Regions from separate parts of the Homo sapiens genome. Here regions 2 and 3 are each linked to region 1. The links are contacts of gene promoters, found by promoter capture Hi-C in blood cells and fetal thymus (Javierre and others, 2016). All regions are on one chromosome and are shown on one strand. The core of a region is centred on a gene start or on the middle of the fragment in contact, and the rest is flanking DNA. Distances in the headings are between cores, read along the strand shown. Region 1 holds the start of ZFPM2 (zinc finger protein, FOG family member 2). Region 2 overlaps ZFPM2 (zinc finger protein, FOG family member 2). Region 3 overlaps ZFPM2 (zinc finger protein, FOG family member 2).

Region 1 (3,051 bases), core at 388-2,887:
AGGACTATGTATTCTTACAGCCTCCTATGGTAATAGTACTAATGGTAATGTAATAAAATTCACAATTTGTCTTCAGCTTTGTATTAAGATTCTCTTGGCCATACCTTTCACAAGGCAACTCTTTACACCTTCCAGAAGATGTCCTGTTGGGGTTATAAATGACACTGATTACAGTGCCTCTTACACACTGAGCATCTTGCATTATGCTCAATCAGCCCAGGCTCTGTGCTGACCCCAGACCCTTTTAGAGTATCCAGTTTGGTGTGGTTCACACAAATAATAGTCAACCAAGCAAACGGGGACACAATTTGAGATCAGAATGGTCCACTTCACAACCTCCTGGGGGAAAAGTCAGCAGTATCTGGGGGACTCATGTGAACTGCAGTGGAGTTTATTAGTAAATACTGATTACATAAAGCAGCTAGTCCCACTGCACTTGGATAGAAGCTCCTTCCAACCCACATGGGAGAATATATTTAATACTTACCGTATATGAAACTGTAAGAAAATAAGCTAACCTCATACAGTTTAACTTGGCCAAAATAATAACTATGCAAATCACCTCAAAATTTGTTCTCCTTTTGGCTTGCAGTTGCCGATATACTACACATACAGTAATTGAATAAGAATAAAACAAAATTTTAGAAGCTAAAGAACCATTAAATAGTTACTGGGTCTTACCCGCTTGGGAAATTACAGCAAGATCAAATCTTTTATTAGTCGATCGGTGCTTCCCTGTGGCAGAAGACTAAGAGAATAGAAAGGTCACGGGGCAGGGTGGGACTACAGAACTTCCCCAGACTTTCCCAAAAAGTTAGTATTTTTATTAGAGATGGTTCGTTTTCCACTTACGGCTAATCAGCTAGCTAACGCTCGCTCCTCCTTTTCAAGATGAGAAAAATATCTGCTTGTCTCCAAATTTGAATATTTTACAATTTAAAATGGAAACTGTGGGTGACAGAACACGTTGAGGATCCGACTCAGCACCTCATCCACGTGGGCCCAGAGCGGGACGGTCCGTGTCCGCAGCGGTCTCCTGGGAGCCTTGAGAGCAAAGAAATGGTCTTCTGAGAGCCTGGGCAGATGAGCGGACTTAACTGGCCCCAAGACACACAGTTGGCATTTGTGATCATCTGGCTCTCGCCGAGGACTTTGCCAGTGGCCTAACCTTCCTGCCAAGAAGCTGGGAGGGCGGGGGTTGGGGGTGAGGGGAGGGGGCGGCATAACTGAAAGCACAAAGTTTAGGGAGAGACTGAGATTTCTTTGTGCCCCGCTGGACTGGCGAGGCGTGAGAGAGGAGAGTTGGGGTCCCTCAGAGAGGGCCGTTGGAAGAAGTTGCCTGGAAGGAGGTGGGGCGGGGTGCCCTGGCAGCTGCCCAGCGTTGACGCGGTGACAACTGCAGAAGGTGGCCCTCCTCCAAGCCGTCCCCACGCCTCCCCTCCAACTCCCACCCACCCCTGCCCCCATCCCCCACCACCGCCTGGATCCCCCGCACTTCGCCCGACCAAGGCCGGGGCCGTAGTTTGCATCCGGACTGGATTTGGATGCAGCCAATCCTCCTTTGGCTGATGGAATAGTCTCCCCTCCCCACAGCCCCGGCGCGCCCCTCCCTCGCGCGCCTCGCCGCCTCCCGCCGCAGAACAGGAGCTGCGCGGCCCGGAGCGGCGGCGGCGGCGCCGGAGTATCCGTCCCGCACGCCGGGGCGAGGGGCGAGCGAGCGCGCTCCTCCTCCCGCGCCCTGCGCCCCCGCGCTCCCCCTCTCCTCGCTGCTCGCTCTCCCGTCCCTCCCTCCTTCTCTTCCTTCTTTCCGTGTTATTTTTCTCTTCTCTTTCCCCTTTTCTCTCTCCCTGACCGTTCGCTTGTACATTCCCATTCTCCCCCCGTCGCTCTCCTCTCCCCCTCCCCTCCTCACTGTCACACTCTCTGTGCCCCCGTCTCTCTTCTCTCATTTGCTTGCTCATCTCCGAACGTGAATCCGCGGCTCCCGGAGGAGCCCAGCGCCCGGAGCACCTGGAGTCCGGCCGGCGGCGGGCCGAGCCTGGCCAGCGGCGGCGGCGGCGGCGGCGGCGGCGGGAGCCGAGGGAGCGGCAGCCGCGACCGCGGGCACCGCGGGAGCCCCAGCGGCAGCAGCCGCCGCCGAGATGTCCCGGCGAAAGCAAAGCAAACCCCGGCAGATCAAACGTAAGTTTGCGCGCGGGGCCGGGAGTTGGTGGGATTATTGCCCAGGAGCGGGGTGCGCGGGACGGGAAAGCGGTGGGTGGGTGGCGGGGCTAGGGGAGATCCGCTCCCGGTCCCCTAGATGTCTCAAACTTTGCCTGAGCAGTCGAAGGGACAACTAGACAGTCATAGACAGACAGACGGCCAGCCCGAGCCTCGGGCAGGAGAGAGGCTGCGAGGAGCAGCCCATGCTTGCCCCGCTCAGCCCTCGCGCTCCCGGGCTGCTTTTTTAATTCCGACCCGCGCACGCTGCGAGTCCCCGGCGCTGTCGTCCAGCCGGAGGGGCAGTCCCGCTCCTTTAGACGCTTATTATTGTTGTTGTCATTGCTTTGTGCGATTGACGTGGGACTACTCTTGGGAACCACTTTTAGTAACCAGGGTAGAAACTTCTCAGAAAAGCTGGGCGGTCGAGACCTCGGGGCGAGGGAGGTAACTTCCCCACGCGGTGGAAAATCAGAGCGTCAGGGTCCCGATCCTGGGCGGTGCCAGAGCCACACCAAACCCGAAGCGAAACAAAAAGTAGGTGTAAAAGTTCGCGCCTCTGCGGCGGGCGGCCGTGCGTCTCTGCCCTGCGGGCGCGGGCTGGTGGCTGGCAGGTCGTGTCCTGGGACTTCGGGCGGGTCCGGCTCACGCCGCCAGGACGCTCAGCCGAGCGGGGATTCGGGTGGTGTCTGGCCCTGGTGGCGCGCGGAGTCCTCCCTGGGAGGGGCCGCCAGTCACTTCCCAGCGCGGAAGCTGTGAGTTCAAGGCGGTGGGCGCGCAGGGGAGTGCATGGCCCTGAGCCCCCGGGTGCCCGGGGGTCCCGATGGTGCTTAGAGGACACGGCGGGTCAAG
Region 2 (3,051 bases), core at 385-2,884, 400 kb after region 1:
CTTTTGTGGTTAATATTTTATGATGGATTCCATTTTCAAATTAAATTTAACAGCCTTGATAGCTATGCAGAGACCAATATTAGAGAAGAATTATGTCATTGGATAACTTGCATTTAGAAATAATGGTATCAAGTTTAAATGATTTCATCTTACTTAACAGGGAACCACAGCCAACCTTAACTGGCAGAAAAAACTTCCCAATTTACATGTCACATTTAACTTATGCAAAGTATACATTAATTTTAAAGATGCGATAAGGTCCTCTAGTAATCTGGCCTTAGTCACTGATTGCGAATTTTACTAACCAGCATTCTTCTAGGGATGCAAATGAACAGAAATAGTTGTATAAATAATGCAATTTATTATTCATACGATTCTGCTCATGTCCTTATGAGCTGCCCTGCACTCCTCCCACCCACCTGATCCTGCTGTATCAATGTCCTTCTCCAACATTTTCCAGGTTTTACATATTTCACAAAACTTTGATTCAAGTTTCCAGTAAATGAATGTTGAAATATGATGAATTCCCTTGCTATCTAAAGTTTAATCATAAGTTTAAAGAGTTTTCAGTCATTATTAATTCTTAGTGTTCACTACTAATTTATGATTAATTTACTACTAATTTACCACTATTAATTACTAATAATCTCTAGGTTACCTTGTATTGTGCATGTGCCTCCAGTATATTTGTATCAAAACCTTAGAGCTGCAGATTTAGCTCAATCATTTCATGAAAAATATCTGCCACATCACCTAATTGGAAAAGAACATCTCTGTCGTGCCAATCAGCCAGATCACTCCTAGCTGTCAGGAAAAACTCTGACTTCATTTTCCAATTCAAATAAGCATGTAAATTCAGGTCCCCGAGACAATCATCTCACTTCTGAATTCTTATCCTAAAATAGATATATAGATAAGGCACAGAAGCTTACCAATAGCTCTATCACCTGGATGAAATAAACCTCAGCTCACTTCCACATTTCGGATGGGCTCTGAAAGGACTCCCACTTGGGAGAGGAGATGCATCCTAGAACAGTCCCATTGTTTTGGCATCCACCTTGCTGCATCTGTAAAAGTAGGGTCTTGGGCCTTTCGTTGTGTAAATGAAAAAGCCTTTTGTGGAAGAGAAAGTCGAAAAAACTAGTAAGAACGACTGCATTGTAAAAACCTAGAAAATCATTCCTTTTTAGCGACCCATGCAGGCAAAACCCTGAACGTCTTCATTTATAGTTGTCCCTCTGTAGACATAGGGGACTGGTTCCAGGACCACTGAAGATACCAAAATCCATGCATACTCCAGTTCTGCAGTCAGCCCTGCAGATCCCACAGATGGGAAATGTCAGCCCTACGTATAGACAAATTTCACATCCAGTGAATACTGTGTTTTCCGTCTGCCTTTGGTTGAAAAAAATCGTGTTTAAGTGGATCTGCAAACCCATGTTCAAGGGGCAACTGTACTTTCCACTGTTCACATATCCCAGTTATAGATAACTGCCCCAAGGCACAGCACATGATGCAAATTTGGCAGTCAGTATGTGTTGAATGAATGAATTTCATCATGATTCATGTAGCCTTCCATATTTATAATTCCACAAAAACAGAAAGTTTATCTTTTTCTCACAGCTTTTCTATGTAATGACAACAGATTATATTAATATCAAATCACTTTTTTTAAAAAAAGTAATATATGTTCATTGGAGCAATTTGAAAATAGGAAAAAGTATAAAATACTGCTTTGAATTCCCATTGTTGCCAGGTTACAGTTTTTTTGCATTCACACTGTATTTAGGTCACTATTGGTTTTCACTCTATTTTTTGAAAAATAAAATGTAAAATAGACACAATATTCTCTTGTTCTTACCTTCATCAGGCCTTCTATCCATGAATATTGAATTATCAGCTAGATAGTAACTCTTAAGTAATTTTCTCAGAAAGAATATACGAGAACATGTGTTGAAACCTATTCATCTCTTGCCATCTCACATGAAATGAGGCATGGCTGGTTGCACTATCAAGTATGGTAGCCACTTGCCACTTGTGGCTATGGAGCACTTGAAATGTGACTTGTCTGTATTGGAGATATGTAGCAAATGTAAAATACACACCACATTTCAAAGACTTAATACTATATATAGGTATAATTAAAATTTTAACATCAGTTATAAATTGGTAATGTTTTTGATATGGTAGATTAAATATATTATTAAAATAATTTTACCTTTTTCCTTTTTATGTAGTTATTAATTTTTTAAAATTATATATATGGCTAATATTATATTAATGGACAGCTTTGGTCCAGATGTTACCAGATTTTTGCAACACAAAGGCCTTGTACCCCTCTGAAGCTTCTTTTTCTTTCTTCCTTCCCCACCCTGCTTCCTGCTTATAAAGAATAACTTAATTCTTTCATACCAATATATTTTCTAGACTAGGTCAAGCTCCTTTGTTTGTTGGACCATGGGAGATTCTTTGGATCTTTGTTTCTATTGTCAATTTATTTTTCGATTATTCCAATTTCTTCCTTGGTTATGACTATAATTGACCTTTGAACACCTGGATAAGGGTTGCCAATCCCCACCCCCATGCATTTGAAACTCCACATATAACTTCTGTGTCCCTAAAAACTTAACTACTGATAACCTACTATTGACCAAAAACCTGACCAATGACATAAATAATTGATTAACACATATTTTGTATGTTATGTTTATTATACTATATTCTTACAGTAAGGTAAGCCAAAGAAAAGAAAATGTCAAGAAAATCATAATGAAGAGGAAATACACTTGCTATTCATTTAGTGGAAGTGGGTCATCATAAAGGGCTTCATCCTTGCTGTCCTCACATTGAATAGTGTGAGGAGAAGGAGGAAGATGAGGGGGTGGTCTTGCTGTCTCAGAGGTGGCAGAGGCAGAAGAGGTGGAGGTGAAATGGGAGGCAGGAGAGGCAGGCACACTGGGTGTATCTTTATGGAAATACACTGTAATTTCGGTCTGACTCTGCTCTCTCATTTCTCTAAAAATGTTTCTGTATTATACCAATCCTTCTTCC
Region 3 (3,051 bases), core at 367-2,866, 320 kb after region 1:
ATCAAGCATACATTTGTCCAACTTAGGGTTGGAGTGATACATACTAGAATATGTTCTGTCTGCATTAAGCTTCAAAACAACTCAATGAAATAGATAGTATTTTCTCATTTTACACCTATGACTTAGAGAGGTGGCATGATTGCCTGTGATCATAGAGAGCTAACAATAGAGCTAAATTCAATCTACGTCTTGACAGCTCCAAATTTTGTGCTCCTTGAACTACATGACTCTGCCTTTCCCTTTGCCACTGTTAAATGATGAGTAACAATCAAAACCACTCGGGCTTTTATCCCTAGAAATCACAAAATATATATATTAAAGTGTGGCATTTCCCAAAATGTATTTCATGGAACCCTAAGATTAAAGAAAAAGCCCCATGACCAAATATCATTTATCGTAGCCCTCTTGAAAACTCACAATGGATGCTGCTATTAATGATCTAGAATTATGCAGTAAAAAACAAAAGCAAAAAACCCTGATCATTTGCATTTCAACATATATTTTTATTTCTCTACTTTGCTCCAGACTCTTCTTTGATCTTCTACCTGGGGTTCAGAGGCCTGGAACTAATTTCTAGTATTTAGAGTGCCTTTAGAGGGAGGAGACAGCTCACCCAGAGCATGTCCCAAAGTTGTGTCAATACCTTAATATTCTGGGATTTTACTAGGGATTGTTTGGATCATGGAAAATATGATCCCGGGAGGCACTCCTACTCGTATCCAAACACACTGGACTCAGGAGTCGTCTGTCTCCACAATCTGTATGTATGATAAGACTCCTCAAAGCAAAAGCGTTTTGAAGATGGAAGGGTTAACAAGTGTTAACTTGAAACTCCACAATGTTTGTGGCATTTTCGTAATGCCTATATTATTTATTAATTGGGCCTCTTTTGTTTTCAAGTGGTGGAATTCTAACTGAAATTAGCTTCTGCCAAAAAATTGTGTGTGTGTGTGTGTTTTGGGGTAGATGGGTTCATCTGCTCATATAACTGAGAGTCCAGGGATATTCTGGATGTCAGGAACTGCTTGATTCAGTTGCTCAAACTTTGTCCCCAAACTCTCTCTCTCTATCGTCTGGCTCTTCTTTCTTGTGTGGGCATCATTCTCAGATAAGTAGTGGCAAGCTCCAGACTTATTCCACCAGCATAGCAACTTCGGTGAAAAGAGAGCTTTTCTGGGTTTTGTGATTAGAGCACATCACATACCATTCCCTGAACCAATTAATCACTATGACTCTCCTAGGCAGGCCATAGTCAGCCTGGGGCCTAAAAGTAAAATTAACCCTGCATGAGCCACTGAAATGGAGGAGAGGTAGTTCCCTAAATAAAACCAAGGATATGCTGCCACAAAAGAGTGGTTGCTTGTTGGGCCAACATCCATGCTCCCAGGTATCACATATTATTTCCTAAAGTCTAAAAAGCTCTCATGGACGATGAAAATTAAATTCCTGATGCCACAATTGTATTTATTTGTTTGTTTTCCTAAAAACCTAAACTACTTATAAACTCAATGCCAAATCATTATTATAGGACCTGGCTATCTGAGAACATATCAGTATCTGTTTACAAATAGAAGATAAATTGCAGATGTGTGACATTTTGCAAAAATGCCTTGACTGAGATTTTTGATAGTGTTTTCTTATGGTGTGAAAATAGGCCCATTTAATGTTTAACTATTACCATCTAGGAGGCATGCTTGCTTCCTAAAGTGTTCCTAAATGTAGGCTAGTAACAAAATTAAATATGACTATAAATCTCTCCTTGTCAGCGTGTCCATCAAATAATTATTATAAAATAAAATTGTATTATATCACTTAGTGCTTTTTGACAGGTTGCCATCATCTTGTTTTATAAAAATTTTTAAAAGTATAGTAGTTGGCATTAACATTCGAATCTGATGTACATTGTTCCTGCCTCACCTACCCCTTGTCATTCCAGAAAGTAATTAGGTCATCCAGACATTGATGGACCAGACCTGTTGGGTCGTCTGTTTTTTGCCATTATTCTCAACAGACTCCAGATAATTCTAATTTACTTATCTCTATGGATAAATACTAAAAAGCATAATGCTGAAGTTAAAAGGAGCTCTGCTGGAGAGTAGGGTGAGCAAAGGCCTGCCCACTTACTCCTAAAATCCACTGTCTGTTGAGCACTGATGATCTACTTCTTTACCTTACCTTCTTATATGCTATCTACCGTTTGCAAAGTATGGTGACCTTTTCATATGAAAAACAAATAGTGTACTTAGAATTTTACGTTTTGAGGATATTTAAAATTACACCTTTAGCATCTTTCATGTGGGTTTAATCACTCAGCTTCAAATCGGGAATAATTACATTATTTAGTTTTTCAATTTTCTTGTAGTTGTTATTTCAAAGTAGCCACATTCTCTAGGTCTCCAGATTAAGAGAATAAACACTGTCAATCAAGAGAGTGAAAAAGTATCTGCTAACCCTCACTCTCACCTCAACAACATAATATTTCTTTATATGCGAAGCCACAATATTATTATAAAAATCTATATTTCATGTGTAACCTTAGACAAATCACTTGCCCACTCTAATCTTGATTTTCTCAGCTGTGAAAATGGAATAGCAATGGCTACCATGCAGGATTTTTGTGAAGCACCCATTTACATGATTGCAGAGGTTATGATCAATATTATGTTGCTGATTATCATACAAGCAGTCCTTGTGGTCATAAGTCAGTACACACTGAGAGAAAATGAAGCCAGGCCTCCATGTTGGTATCAAGCATATAGTGATATCGTATTTATAGCGAAGACTTCTACAAGTCTTATTCAGTCACTTTGAACCCACAGAATATTTGCAGAGATCTGTGTCACAGAATTAGAGACCTGAAGCCTGTCTGGGAGCATATCATTGGATTTTTTTCTTGGGCACGTGATACTTTTATTTTAGTGAAAGTCTTATATACAATGCTAGTATAAAGATGAAAATGATGATATTATTAATACTAATAATAGCAATTACTATTTATTAATCTTTGTTCTATTCTAGACACTGTTCTAATCACTTTACGTACATTTTCTT

The links. The method cuts DNA at HindIII sites, captures the fragments that hold promoters and counts their contacts. A CHiCAGO score of 5 or more calls a contact.
Region 2: a contact is called between a fragment that was not itself captured here and the fragment with the promoter of ZFPM2 in region 1, in 1 of 17 cell types (endothelial precursors). The highest score is 5.9, in endothelial precursors.
Region 3: a fragment that was not itself captured here is called in contact with the fragment with the promoter of ZFPM2 in region 1 in 1 of 17 cell types (megakaryocytes); the score reaches 6.1 in megakaryocytes.

What each region holds. Positions count from the first base shown.
Region 1 is chr8:105,316,801-105,319,851 of GRCh38, forward strand. ZFPM2 (zinc finger protein, FOG family member 2) reads left to right here and starts at 1,638. Exons shown (of 8, transcript NM_012082.4): 1 at 1,638-2,181. The coding sequence starts at 2,142. The HindIII fragment of the contact is 6,875 bases long and covers 1-3,051 here.
Region 2 is chr8:105,719,846-105,722,896 of GRCh38, forward strand. All of the region lies in intron 5 of ZFPM2 (zinc finger protein, FOG family member 2), which reads left to right. Among named protein-coding and RNA genes, the nearest start is that of ZFPM2-AS1, 340 kb to the right of the region's middle. The HindIII fragment of the contact is 1,418 bases long and covers 926-2,343 here.
Region 3 is chr8:105,637,017-105,640,067 of GRCh38, forward strand. All of the region lies in intron 5 of ZFPM2 (zinc finger protein, FOG family member 2), which reads left to right. Among named protein-coding and RNA genes, the nearest start is that of ZFPM2, 320 kb to the left of the region's middle. The HindIII fragment of the contact is 3,099 bases long and covers 68-3,051 here.